Regions from separate parts of the Homo sapiens genome. Here region 1 is linked to region 2. Evidence: promoter capture Hi-C in 16 types of primary human blood cells and fetal thymus (Javierre and others, 2016). All regions are on one chromosome and are shown on one strand. Each heading gives the region's core, a stretch centred on a gene start or on the middle of the fragment in contact. The rest is flanking DNA. Distances are from core to core; before and after follow the strand shown.

The links. Contacts are between HindIII fragments. The CHiCAGO score rates a contact against its expected background, and 5 or more counts as called.
Region 1: a contact is called between a fragment that was not itself captured here and the fragment with the promoter of SMIM23 in region 2, in 1 of 17 cell types (endothelial precursors). The highest score is 6.3, in endothelial precursors.

Annotation. Positions count from the first base shown.
Region 1 is chr5:171,635,034-171,642,496 of GRCh38, forward strand. No RefSeq gene overlaps it. Among named protein-coding and RNA genes, the nearest start is that of SMIM23, 150 kb to the right of the region's middle. The HindIII fragment of the contact is 731 bases long and covers 3,739-4,469 here.
Region 2 is chr5:171,784,236-171,791,818 of GRCh38, forward strand. SMIM23 (small integral membrane protein 23) reads left to right here and starts at 1,582. Exons shown (of 4, transcript NM_001289970.2): 1 at 1,582-1,741; 2 at 5,995-6,046; 3 at 6,247-6,314; 4 at 6,560-6,901. The coding sequence starts at 1,637. The coding sequence ends at 6,853. The HindIII fragment of the contact is 8,257 bases long and covers 1-6,091 here.

The sequences.
Region 1 (7,463 bases), core at 2,854-5,353, 150 kb before region 2:
TTATTACAAATGGAAGGTCAAGTTCATGGGTGCTGTGGCAATTTCCTTTATAAAGTAAAAAACCCTTCCACAAAGTGACAGTCCATTTTCTAGTTTAGAAGTGAAATAATTATTGAAGGTGCAGCATATGTACTGCTATTGTCCCTATTTCATAGCTGAGAACACTGAGGCTCAGAGAGGGCCAGTCACTTGCCCAAGGTCACACAGCTCAGTGGGTAGAACTGCCGGACCTTCAGCCCTGGGTCTGACCCCAGTGCTTTTACCTCCATTCCAACCGGCTCCCATGGCATCTGCCTTGGGCTTAAACAAAAGTTGTGAAAGTACTTTGTAGACAGTGAGGATGCTCACTTCTCAGTTACCTGGCTCTGCCCTCACCCTCAACCTAAATTTAGCAGGGGCCAGCAAGCAGACCTCAGTCCCCACCTCCACCCCAGTTTCTTTCCTTTCAGAGCCCAAATCCCTCATAGCTGTTTCCCAGAATGCTTGCTTCCTGTGTGTCCTCCCCCTATTAAAAAATCTCCTGTTGATTGAAAGATAAAACCTTTCTTTTCAGCTGGTTGCTTGTAACGTACTGTTTTCTATTGCTGGCTGGGCTCCTTCAATTAGTTAAGAGTGCATGAGCAGCAAGAAAGGGGAAAGGAAAACCCGTCATTGCCTGTCAGTAACAAACATGGCTACTAGGGCGTTTTCCCAGAAGGAAACTGGAGGGAACTTTCTTATCAGTCCAGTATTGTATATGTGCAATTTTTGAAGATAATACTTTTGAGCTGTTCAAATACTGTTCTTTGGGCTGGTGACTTTTGATACCAGTAGACCCAAGCGAGAGAGCCTTAGCTTTCTGAAGCACTTCCCTCTGCAAAGTAGTCTAATTTGGACAGGCTGTGCTGCTCGCTGGCAAGCACTGGACCCATCATCCCAGTGCCACAGTGTCATGGCTTTTCTTTCTGGGAGTCTAGAAGGATGTTTTCCTAGAAAAATGCAAATAGGACACTATCTTTTCTTTTCCTTTCCTTTCCTTTCCTTTCCTTTCCTTTCCTTTCTTTTCTTTTCTCTTTTCTTTTCTTTTCTTTTCTTTTCTTTTCTTTTCTTTTTTCTTTTATTTTCTTGAGACAGAGTCTCACTCTGTTATCCAGGCTAAAGTGCAATGGCGTGATCTCCACTCACTACAACCTCCGCCTCCCGGGTTCAAGCAATTCTCATGCCTCAGCCTCCCGAGCAACTAGGATTACAGGCATGCGCCACCGCACCTGGCTAATTTTTGTATTTTTGTAGAGACGGGGATTCACCATGTTGACCAGGCTGGTCTCAAACTCCTGACTTCAAGTAATCCACCCACCTTGGCCTCCTAAAGTGCTGGGATTACAGGTGTGAGCCACTGTGCCTGGCTGGACACTATCATTTCACACCATTAGTCATTTAAGACAATCAACAGTACAGGAAGGGCATCAGCTAGTCATCTGGGTGAGGGGTTTCCCTCTCCTGAGGACTCCACCATCCCAGCAGGCTATTTATATTGGGGTGCCACCATCATATAGCAGGTTGGGAGTCCTGAATTTAAACACAAATTTAAATTTAAGAGGCAGATAAATGGAGAAGGAATATGTAGTAGGTTGAATGGTGGCTGTCCCCCCAAAGATATGTCCATGTCCTAACCCCTGGAACCTGCTAATGTGACTGTAATCAGGGAAAGGGTCTTTGCAGTTGTTACTAACTTAAAGATCTGGAGGTGAATTCATCCTGGGTGATCCAGGTAGGCCTTAAATCCAATGACAGGTGTCCTTATAAGAAAAAGGCAGAGGGAGACTCAAGACACACAGAGGAGAAGTGGGAAGAGGGATGGCTTTTGGAAGAACAAATACCAACATGGGTTTTGTTTAATTTGTCAAAGTCTTTAGATAATTTGAAGTGAGGTCATTAGTACCCACATACCAATTTGAAGTGAGGTCGTTGGTACCCAGTGCCTCTGCATTCCATGAGAGAGTCCACTGTGTGGCTTTGGGCGTGATAGCTGCTCTCTCTGAACCCATTTCTTCCACCGTTACATGACGATGCTCATGGTGCCCACCCTCATAGCCGTTGTGAGGATCAAGGAGGTGTGAGGTGTCAGGGGTCATAAATCGGCAGCCCACAGGTGACTTTGGGACACAGGCATTTTTGGTTTGTCTTATATAATTTATTTTTAAATTTGTTATCAACCTTCCACTACCAGGAAACTTTATACCAAAATCCCATATTCCCTTGAAAAGTCAAAAAACCTGCCGATCTAGTGTCACTATGAAATAAATGACTGGAGTTGAGTTGCAGCTGGCCCCAGCATGGGCTCTTCAGTTTGCCACAGTCCTCACCACTCCCTATTGCACAGCATGCTCAGACTCCATTTATTCCACTCACCTGGCTGGCCCCTGGAGGCCTCTGAGTTTGCAACCTTGGTGAGTGAAAGCTTTTTGTAAATTCTTGGTTAATTTCATTTTCATTTCACAAAAAGACAAATCCCAAACTCATATTCTTATTGAGGAGAGTGTCTCCAGTAGGGAGAGGGACTGATGAAAACCTCTGTCAGATGGAATTTTTTTACTTAATAGAGTTTGTTGTAACCAGATCAGCAACATCCTTTCATCGTAGGCTGCTGACTTGTGGAAATCTCTTTGTTACCCAGAACTAGACACAAATGATGGTACTTGTTAAAACCAGGCGTGCTGGTGGAGAGAGACCTCCATTTATGCTTGGTCTTGCCAATATTTTGATGTTCCAGTCCTTCTCTGGTTTAATAGTTAAGTACATGTTCATTTTGGATTTTCATTCAAACCAGTTCAAGAGGTGATTTTAAGAAAAAACAACACTTTTGGTTTGCATTTCGTCACCAAAACTAGCTATGATTTCCTTGGAGTTCAAGGTTCAGAAAATGGGTCCAGTTCATTGAATCAGACTCAAAATATGGCTCTGCCTCCTGCTAGCTGTGTGACTTTGGGCTGTCCCTTAACCTCTCTGAGCCTCAGTTTCTTCATCTCTGCAAAGGCCAGAATAATAGCTGTCACATCACAGGATTCCTGTAAGGATTGGAGATGACATAAGTTAAGCTCATGGAATAGGAGCTGGAGCATGAGACAGTATTTTTCTTATTATGATTGATTACTCCTTTAAGAGACTCCCCTAGTTCTAGTTTGGGAAGTAGAAATCTTAGATTGTGAAGATTTTATTGTTCACACACACCTGTAGTAGAATTCGGCCTTGATTTGCAAACCTTAGAGGTAATAATGATGACCTTGATAATAATTTTGAGGGGTGATATTTACTAGATATTCCCTTGGAACAGATGAAATCCTCCCCCTTCTCTCCTCTTGTCCTCTTTCCCCTTCTCCGTTACAATCTTTGGCACTTGAGGGTTAGTTATGTATCAACACACGATGTCTTGGGAAATCTGGAATAAGAAAATATTCTCAAAGCCTCCTGATTTGCAAACTGAATGATATACTCCCTAATTTTAGGTGCCAGCCTGTGTGGGATCAGATCAAGAGATAATAGATGAGCGAGGGTTGGGGGATAAGGCGACCGTTCTTCACTCTTTGGCTCTGTTCCCCGTCGCAAGAGGTTTAGCATTCCCGGGTCCCTGGCACTGAAGCCAGTAATGCCCTTCCAGTCATTGGAACAAACCAAAATGCCCTCCCATGCGTCTGAATGTCCCCATGGGAGTTTGACAACCACCATTAGCCAAATGAAGGTGGCTGATGAGAATATTCAAGCTTTCCTGGCCTGCAAACTTGGGCCAGAACCTCCATTCATCTCTCTGAACCTCCATTTCCTGGCCTGTCAAGTGGGAGCGTCGTGTTCACCTTGCAGGGCTGTTGGAAGGACTAAGAGGGAGGGTGTATGTAAGGGGCCAGGCGTGATCACTGGCATACAGTAAGTGCTCAATGCATGAGGCTGGCACATATTAAGTGCACAATGCACAGGGCACAGCATGGGGGTGCAGCAGACCTCTTGGCTCCCCTTTTTCCACTGATTGTGTCTCCAAGTAACAGGGCCAAGGGGGGCATTCAAAGCCCTCCGGACTTCATTCTGCCCTAATTGGAAGTCATTGTGGAATGAAGTCCAGTATTTAATTTGGCCTGTGTTTGACAGATCCGATGTGCACAGCGAGCAGAGCTCACACAGGGCCTGTGCGTGATACAGGGGGGATTCTTGGCCTGGGCTCAGGGCGGATTGGTGGAGAAAATGTCGCATTCAATTAAGGCTGATTGGCCCTGACAGTTGTCTGGGTGAAGTTTATAAGGTACATCTAATCTGGATGCATCTGGTCATAAAAATGCAAAACAAGCCATTCCCACCCAAGTTCTAACTCCAGATGTGGGCTGATTCTCAGTGATTGACACCATATTTTTTGCAGCTGTCCTACATTTCAAATCTTTTTCTATTTAAAATATATTCATCATAATTATGGAATGCAATAAACAAACTTCAGCCTGATGACAAGCTTTAAATATAAGAAAGTTTCAGCTTAAAATAAATGCCGTGATTTCTCAGCCCAGGACGGAGACAGCACCAACAAGCATTCTCCAAAGGAGCCTTGACCTTGTCACCATGAACCAGAAACAGTTATTTTCTCTCCAGTATTGACTGATATTTGGAGCGGGGACAGAGGGAGAAAAATAAAAAAGCTATTTATATCAGATAGAAAAATGTGCACAACCATCGGAAAGCCACGCTTGCAACACAAAGAAAAAGAAATAGATTCAACTTAATCATGTTTTGAAGGCCTCTGGTGGTGCAGGTTCTTCCCAGGGCAGGGTAGACTAGAGGTTATGCACATAGACTTTGGGGCCAGGTTGCCTGCTTTCAAATCCCAGCTTCCACACTCCACACACTGGTACCTTGAGCATTGTTTTGTCACTTAACTATTCTGTGCCTCGGCTTCCTCGTCTGTAAAATGGAAGATGATAATACCACTTATTTCATCGTGGAACTGTAAGAGCTAAATGAGTTACTGTAAATAAAGGGTGTATAACAATGCCTGGCACATAAATGCTCAAGATGTGTTAGCTATGATGGTAATCCATATCAGCTGACCCCTTTCCATGGATCCTCCAAGGGGGAGAGTGAGGTTTCCAGAGATTAGATGACTCGCACAAGTTTCATCCAACCCCTGGCAGAGCTGACATCCAAACCCTGATCATTTGACTTCGCTATAAAACATGCCTGCGGGTGCTCAGTCTTGCTCATGTTTGCATTTTTTTTGCCTCAATTTAAAGTTTTTTAAAGAAAGTTTTCCTGGTGGCTGCTCTATCAGTGGCTTTTTATGCATTCAAATAGTGTCCTATGAAATCTTGGACAAAAGAGCATCCTTATGTTTCTTCTGCTGCTCCTGGGGCTCATCTTTTATTTTTAATGCTATTTAAATGAGTCTGTAATTGAGATAGTCAAATAAACAGGCTATTAGGTTAATTATAGAGAGCTCAGCCTACATCCAAGCTGCTGGGTTTCCTATCCTCTTGTGGACCTCAGCCATGACCTAATGATTCTACCATTAACAGCAAGTACAGCTTAGTTCCTCGAGAAAAATGAGAACTACCCAGAGTTCATGTCAACAATCTGCTCCTCTTTAAAATGAAGCCATAAGTCACAAGCCCTCTGAGTTCCCAGAGAAGTGTCTGGAGCTAAATTTGTATCCTGACTGTGATAATTGTTCTCCTATTAGGCTGATGAGAGAATTAGCAGAGCCAAGTCCTCTGGGGCTGTGCCCACAGCTCGGGCCAAGCTGAAAATGACTCTGTGAGTTTTATTTGTGAGATGTGTAAAAGGCTTGTCCATCACTGGGCCCGTGGACATGGGTTCAATATCAAAATAGCATGAGCCGCCTTTCCCAACAGACAGACTCCAGTCCTGGCAGGCCCTCTGAATACAGCAGGAACAAAAAATTCCTGCCGGAAAAGGTGTAGCTGGGTGTTAGTTCTCTCTACAGCCCTGTGGATGGCTCCACTGATATCTGTGGCCCGTGCCTGACCTGCTGCACTCCTGTTTGAGAGAGGTAGTGTGGAAGGGTGGCAAGAGCGTGTCCTTTGGAGACAGACCCAGGCTCAAATGGGTGGACTGGGGTCAGCAGCCCCAGGTATTGGTCTCAGAGATTGGTCTGTGAAAGGGGAGAATGGGAGTAAATAGTCTCTGACTTGCAGGATCGTCATGAAGATTGGAAGAGATTATGTGGGGAGAGGACCAGGCTTGAAGCCAGTGCTCAATAAACAGAGGCTGAGGTTTTGATTCTCTGGGGTCAATGAGGCACTTAACATGGTTGTCTGGGATTGGAAAGATTGTTTCTCCTTCTGTAGCCAGAATGGCAAATAGATTGTATCTCCCAGTTCGATATGAATCAATTGGAGATGCCTGCTTAAAGTGCAGTGAATGATTTGTAATACCTGCCATGGACTAGGGTGGGTGATAAGAGAATGCACCCCATGTGTTTCTATCTCCCTTCTAGAATGTAAGCTCCAAAGGCAGGGACTGGGTCTGAACAACAATCCATTAACTTTGTACAGGCTCCAAAGCATTTTTGCATCAATTATCTCATTACTCTCCCCCAAAATCCTCAGACATGGTATGCTGTGGTCCCACATCCCCTGGAATTGCAAATATTCTGTCCTCCAAAAGGGCCTGGAGTTTAAAAACTATAGCTAATGTAATAGGCAAGGAAAACCTTATTCACCCTAATCTACAGATGAGGAAATTGAGTCTCAGAGGGAGAAATAAACTGCCCAGAATCATACACTCAGTTGACAGAAGAACTAGAACTCAATTTAGATAATTTATTTATTTATCTACTCAACAAACATTCCTTCATTGCCTACTATGATCAAATTCTGGACTCAACACTCATGTTGCCCTTGAAGTTGCCTACAGTCTAGTGGGGGATATTGATGTGTAAACAATGAAATTACAAAACTGTGTGTGAGAGTGCAAACAGTCAGGGAAGAGGGAACATTTCAACTAAGTTTTGAAGGCATGAGATCCAGAAGAGCTCAGTTATGGAACTTGGTCTTTATCCTGAGGGCAAAAGGGAGCCATGGAGGGTTCTAGGCAGTGAGTGACCTAATTACTGTAGTGTTTTGGACAAACCACCAAAGGGCAGTGTGGAGAATGGACAGGAAGGGGAGGACTTGGAACAAGGAGGCCAGAGAGGAGTTTTGTGGTCCAGGTGAGGGGTACTGAGGCCTGAGCAGGTGCAGGAGTACATGGGGTGGGTAGGAGGTCATGGGTAGGACATGAAAACTCCCCAGACCCCAGAAGGTCTCCCTTCTGTGAGCAGGAATCAGAAAGGACTCAGCAGAAGTCTGCCCCAGGCTTGGAGGAGAAGACCAGGCCAGAAAACAAGGCCAGGAAAGGCAGGGCAAAGGGTTTTTTAGCAGGTAAGTAGGCTGTGTCCCTCATCGCCATGGGTAATCTGGAAGCAAACTAATTTGAGTCATTTTGAGAGA
Region 2 (7,583 bases), core at 332-2,831:
TGGCTCACGCCTGTAATCCCAGCACTTTGGGAGGCCGAGGCAAGCGGATCACAAGGTCAGGAGATCAAGACCATCCTGGCTAACACGGTGAAATCCCATCTCTACTAAAAATACAAAAAATTAGCCGGGTGTGGTGGCGGGTGCCTGTAGTCCCAGATACTCGGGAGGCAGAGGCAGGAGGATGGCGTGAACCCGGGAGGCAGAGCTTGCAGTGAGCCGAGATCGTGCCACTGCACTCCAGCTTGGGCGACAGAGTGAGACTCTGTCTCAAAAAAAAAAAGAACAAATAGTGTAAACAGATATTGGTGGGGATGAGGAGAAACCAAATCACTCATACACTGTTAATGAGAATGTACAATGGCACAGCCATTCTGGAAAACAGTTTGACAATTTCTTATAAAACTATCATGCCATGATGCTATGGCCCAGCAACTGCACTCTCAGGCATTTATCCCAGACAAATGAAACTTACGTTTACCCAAAAACATGTACAAGCATGTTCATATCACCTTTACTCGCAAGAGTCAAAAACTGGAGGCAGCTGGGTTTTGAACAGGTTTGGAACGTGTCCTTCATTATGGCATACACATATCACAAAATACTACACAGCAGTCAAAAAGAATGAACTACTGATACATGCAACAAATTGGATGAATTTCCAGGGAATTATACTATGTTTTTTTTTAAAGCCAATCCCCAAAGGTTAAATACTGTTTCATTCCATTTATGTAGCATTTGGAATAAACAAATTTTAGAAAGAGAGAGCAGATGAGTGATTTCCAGGAGTTAAGGACAGTGTGGGTGGGGTCGGGAGGCAGCAGCCATCACGAAGCAGCACAAAGCCCCTTGTAGTTTTGAAACTCTTCTGTGTCTTGACTATTGTCCTAAGTAAGCAAACCTACACAAAATTGTTTAGAATTAAACACACACACACACACACACAAATGAGAACAAGTAACACTGGGGAAGTCTGCGTAAGATTGGTAGAGTGTATCAATGTCCACATCCAGGCTGTGATCTCCTACTGCAGTGAGGCAGGATATTACTGTACCACTGGGGGAAAAATTCATAGAGGGTACACAGGATCTCTCTGTATTGTTTCTTACAACTGCATGTGAATCCACAATTATCTCCATACATTTTTCAATTAAAAATAGCTTTTATTGTTTTTTTTTTTTTTGTAATTTTTTAAAAATAGAGACATGGTCTCACCATGTTGCCCAGGCTAGTCTCAAACTTCTGGACTCAAGCAATCCTCCAGCCTCAGCCTCCCAAAGTGCTAGGGATTACAGGTGTGAGCCACTGCACCCAAACTATTGTTTTTATATTTTAGAATTAGCATTTTTATTAAAAACTTGCAAATATAGAAGAAAATAATCAGAAAAATCATCATCCTGAAACATAATCTTTTGATGCATTTCTTCCTGATCTTTGTTTTCTACACTCATGTGAAAAATAAAAATGAGGGAAGGGACTAAAAATCAGGGTGGTGGAAAGGTGGGAACCTTGCTGTCCCTACCTTCTGTGACATCAGAACTCAATGTTTGCAGGATGCCTGGTGACCACAGGTGGGGGAGGGGAAGGGTGCCCTTCTGTCTGTTGAGTGTGGTCCACCCAGGCAGCCAGATCTGAGGCCATGGCAACCCAGCAAGTGGACAGCAGAAGGCAGGTGGCAGCAGAGCAGGTGGCAGCCCAGCTGCTTGAACGGAGAAGGGGCAGCCACTGTGATGACGAGAAGCAGGTGAGGCCAGGCCAGGTACATGCTGCTTTCCTCCCATCTGGGCTCCTTTTGCCACTCCAGACAGACTAGAAGTCCCTCAAAGCCCGGAATGAATCTTGGACCCAACCGTCCCTGGATCCCACTCTGATGGAGCACAGTTTAGGGGCCTAGGCACTTCTTGCCGGGGCCATCACTGACACTGTCTTATTAAATTCTCAGCACTGCCAGCAGAAGGTATGTTCCAGGAGGACTGGGCTTTTTGTTTAGTTCCCTGCTGAATCCCTAGTGCCTAGCATGGTGCTTGGTGCCAAGTAGATGCTGAATGAACGAATGAACTGATAATACTCCTGAATTGGAGCGCTCCTGGAGGATTCATTCTCAGGGCTGAAATTCAAAACTCATGTGGGATTTCGTCAAAATGGAAAACATTAATGCTTGCTGCACACAGCCTGGTGCATCCACACCCCATCTCTTAGATGCTATCAACCTCGTTCACAGAGGGTAATCTGAGGCCCAGAAAGGCAAAAGGGCCGTACAACTGGGACATATCAGGATTTGAAAACACATCCATCTGATTTTAGAACTCCCTGAAACCAGGTTCATCTGCTATGAGAACCCTGAGCAAGGGTTTATTCTGAGGATAAGAAGAAGCTGTTGACGGGTTTTAAGCAGAGCAATGAATGAATGAGCTCTGCTGTCTCTGTTTTCAAAAGACTTGTTCACTCATTAATTTACTATACATGCACCGAGCGCCTTCTATATGCTGGACCTTGTAGCGTATAACAGGGGCCTTCATGGGCACCCATCATGCTGCGGCTTTTCCTAAAAAGTGTTCCATAGACACCAGACCCCAGGAATGCTCCTTTTAGAAACATTCTTTACAGAATTCTGTGGCTTGGGGAAGGCTGCATACCCGCATCCCCTCCTGAAGACTGACGCTGCTCATTCACGTAAGGAAGGCTCTGAGAAGTCCTGCAACAAAGAAGTCTGCATAGCTTTGTTTACCACAGCATTTCCCACCTTGATTCTACCAGAGTCCCATTGTTTCCTTTTTTTTTTTTTTTTTTTTTTTTTTTTTTTTCTGAGACGGAGCCTCGCTCTGTCACCAGGCTGGAGTACAACAGTGCGATCTTGGCTCACTGCAACCTCCTCCTCCTGGGTTCAAGTGATTCTACTGCCTCAGCCTCCCGAGCAGCTGGGACTACAGGCGCCCGCCACCACACCCAGTTAATTTTTGTATTTTTAGTAGAGACAGGGTTTCGCCATATTGGCCAGGCTGGTCTCGAACTCCTGACCTCATGATCCACCCGCCTCCGCCTCCCAAAGTGCTGGGATTACAGGTGTGAGCCACTTCTTCTTTTTTGAAAGACTTTGCAGTGTATTTCAAAATCCATTTTACAGATGAAGAAACTGAGGCTCAGAGAAATTATTTGGCTCAGGCCCCAAGACGACACAAGGAAAAGGACTCAAACTCAATCCTAGTCCATGTTCCTCCCTTTGCCTCCATGCAGCACAGTATGGAAACCAGCAGCAAGAATGCCGGGGAAGAAATCAACCTGTAAAATACATTGATAGAGGACTGGTTAGACACATAGAAGAGCTTCCAGGCCACGAAAACTCATCAGCCATTTTAAAGATTGTGACAATTAGTGTGTGTCTTCCATGAAAAGATTCCTAAAGAATATTGTTAAGAAAAGAAAAAGGACCCTAATATTACATGTACAGTGTGATGATTTTGCATTGGGTGTACACACAGATCAAACTATGGAACATTTCTAGCACTGAGGGAGGCTCTTTTGGGGCTCCGCCCACCTGGCATCCCACCCTTCATAGCAGTGATTCTGATTTGTGTCATCATAGCTGAGTTTTCTATGTTCTTGAATTTCATGTAAATGGAATCATACCATGTATACCTTTGTGTCTGACTTCTTTCTCTTATCATTGTGTCTGTGAAACTCAACCAGTTGTTGCTATGTAACATTTTTTTTTTAAGTTAATAGTAATGTAGTTGCTAGTATTATAAAGAAAATTATCTGGGGAAGAGGCAAGTTAGACACATCTTTCATCTTCCTTGTTTAGTACTGGGTCTAAATGTCACTTCACATACTTGGGTGTGTAAGAAATTTATTCTTTCTTTAAGGCAAACTAGATCTGACTCAGCCAACATCTAGTGAGTTTGGGGAAAATTCAATGTCAGTCAATATGCACACACACACAAACACACACACACACACACACACACATATTTGAAAAACAAGAAAACTTTAAAAGCCATGGTCAAAATTTCCACATTAGCAGAAAAAGAAGAATTAAACTCAATAGTATAAAGAAATAAATAATAAAGACAAAATCAGAAATTAATGAAATGTAAAGCAGACAAACAATAAAATTAATAACCATTTTTAATTGGTAAAATTAAATTAAGAATTGGAAAACTTCTAAATAGACTCAACAAAAAACATACATAGAAAGAAAACACAAGTTACCAATATCAAGAATGAAAGAGGTCTCTTGTTTCCTCTCTTGACCTCTTTTCTTTATATATATTTTTTAAAAAGAATAAAAGAGGATTATTATCATGACTCTTACAGGCATTAAAAGAATATTAAGGTAATATTAGGAACAATTTGATGCCAATACATTTAACTTAGGTGAAATGGACAAATCTTCCTTGGCAGTACAACTTACAAAATTGACTCAAGAAGAAATAGTCTTAATAACTACAGGCCCAAAAGTTTTCACCAATAAATTTTATCAATCCTTTGAGATGAAAATAATACCAATCTTACACAAATTATTTCATAAAATAGAGGAGGAGGGAGTTCTTACCAACTCATTTTAAGGGGGCAACAAAATCTTGATACCAAAACTTGACAAACGTGTAGAAAAAAAAATTTTTTTTGAGACAGATTCTTGCTCTGTCACCCAGACTGGAGTGCAGTGGCGCAATCTTGGCTCACTGCAACCTCCGCCTCCCAGGCTCAAGCGATGCTCCTGCCTCAGCCTCCCGAGTAGCTGGAATTACAGGCACCGGCCACCATGGCCAGCTAATTTTTGCATTTTTAGTAGAGACGGGGTTTCGCCATGTTGGCCAGGCTGGTTTCGAACTCTTGACCTCAGGTGATCACCACGGCCTCCCAAAGTGTTAGGATTACAGGCGTGCGCCACCGCGCCTGGCCTAGAAACAATTTTAAACCAATCTCTTCTGAATATAGAGGTAAGAAATCTCAACAAAATAGTAGCTTATCAAATCACATGATATATAAAAAGGCTAGCTAATGCATCATGAACAACTAGAGTTTACTGAAGAAGCTCATTTGGCTCAATATTTAAAACACAATTAATGCAATTTACCACAAAAATGGGGACACATATAGTTGCTCAGTGGGTAAAGAAAAGTCATTGGTGGTTTCTTATAAAATTAAACATACATTTACCATATAACCCAGCATTTGCATTTCTGAATATTAACCCAAGAGAAATGTGAACATATGTTCACATAAGGAATTGTATATGAGTGTTCATAGCACTTTTATTCATAATAGCCCCAAACTGGAAACAAGCCAAAAGTCCATCAACAGGTAAAGAGACTGATTGTGCAATATTCTATGTTCATATAAAATAAATACTCATCAATAAAATACACAATATACTCATCAATAAAATTGAGCACAAAAAAATAGAGGCATTTCGAAAACATTGTCTTAAGCAAAAGAAACTAAATGCAAAAGCACACACACTGTGTAATTCCACTTATACAAGGTTATGGAACAGGCAAAACTACTCACAGTGACAGAAAACAGATTAATGGTTCTCTCCAGGCAGGGCAGGAGTGAGGATGGAATTGACTGCAAAAGGAAACTTTCTAAGATGACGGAAATGCTCTACATCTTGATTGGGGTGATAGTCTACAGGTATAGACATTCATCAATACTCATCAGACTCATCAGACTATACATTTTAAATGTGTGCGTTTTATTATATGTAAATTATACCACAATGAAGTTGATTCCTTTTCAAGATCAATTAAAATGAAAAATGTTTACATGAGAGAAAATGCAAATTGAACATCAGTAAGTTGCAGTGTTATCTATTTCTTCAAAGTTTGGGAGTTTTGTAGTAAGTAAGTGTGACTTAGATAACTAGAACAAAAGTTAAACTCAAAAAACTGTCTTATAAGCATTCCCATGTCTGGCCCTTTGTGATGGAAGCAGGGGGACCTGGAGAGAATTCATCCTCATGTTCTTCCTCCTCTTCCTCTTCTTGCACCCTAGACGCTGTTGGCATTGCTGATCTTGGTGCTGTACTTGAGCACAGAGATATGGGGTGAGCATTCTGGAATCTGAGAAAGAAGGAACCAAATCCACATGAAGCTTGGTGGAGTGTTCCAAAGATGGTTGTATGTTAAGGGGACCTCCATAACCCACCTTCTCCCACTGACCCTTCATCACACTGGGATAACTAACCATGTTTATTTCAATTAGTGCTCATTTGCTCTTCAGAGGTGATGTTTGTGCCTGTTTCAGGAAGCAGTTGGGAGGTGTCAGAAAGGATCAGAGAATGTAACTACTACCAGAATCTTGCAGTTCCCCAGGTAACATGTCCAGCAAGGTACTGAGGTGAGGCAATCTGGGAAGGCTTTCCAGAGGAGGTGTCATTGGCAACATGGGTCATGAAAGATAAGTAGTCGCTTGTCAAGTGCAGAAGGTGGGAACAGGTACTACGAGCACAATGAGTAGCATGTGCAAAGGCCCAGGGATCTTTTTGAAACCAGTGGGGATGGGGAGGAGGGTCCTATCTGAGAAAGCACAGGATGCCACTTCTGTGTCTGCCTTCCAGGGGCTTGAATATCAGACCAACGAGCCCTCAGAAGAACCGATAAAGACCATCAGGAACTGGCTGAAGGAGAAGTTGCATGTCTTCTCGGAGAAGTTAGAGGAAGAGGTGCAGCAGCTGGAGCAGCTAGCGTGGGACCTGGAACTGTGGCTGGATGCTCTTCTGGGAGAGCCACACCAGGAGGAGCACTGCTCCACATATAAAAGTCACTTGTGGGAGTGGGCCTGGGCCCTGGGGAGAGAGCACAAAGGTGGGGAGGGGTTGCTAGAGATTTCTCTAAGCGGGGCAGAGCTCTGACTCTTGAAGTTCCAGTCAGGCAAGAAAATAAAGTAGTTGGGAAATGAAGTCCGCTGTTCACATTCATGAATGCTGACAGAAACAGCGTTGGCGGAACACCAGAGCCCGGCTGAGATATTCTCCCTGGCACCATGACGTGGCCCCCTGGAACAAACACGGGCTTCAGAGCCAGCCATAGGTTCAGGACTCTTCTACTTTCTTGAGACGTTGTGTAAATTTCCTTAACCTGAGACTCAGTTTCCTCACATATAAAAATCGGGGAAACACACTTTGCCTTATAGGAAGACAATGTATGTAGGGTGTGTATACAGAGTGCGTCTGGCACAGAGCAGGTATCGGATAAATAGCTCTTCCTTTCTCACATGCCTTTTCCTTCCTCCCTGGAGTGTGGTAAGAGGATACTAGCTCTGGCTAAGTGTGTGGCTATTATGCGGCATTCAACCCTCTGACTCTGCTGGTGGAAGTATACGTTCCTAAAATCTCTATTTGGTGATAGCTATCAAATTTACAAATGCATTTTCTCTTTGACCCAACAATCTGCTTCAAGGAATTTATCCCACAGCTGCATTTGCCCACACATGAAATTACATGTGTATAAGATTATTCACCCCAGCTTTATTTGCAGTAGCAAAAAAATGGAAGCAACCCAAATGATACCAGGAGGGCTCTGGTTATATAAGTTATGGTACAGCCAGACAATGAACAATCATGTAGCTATAAAAGAGAATGA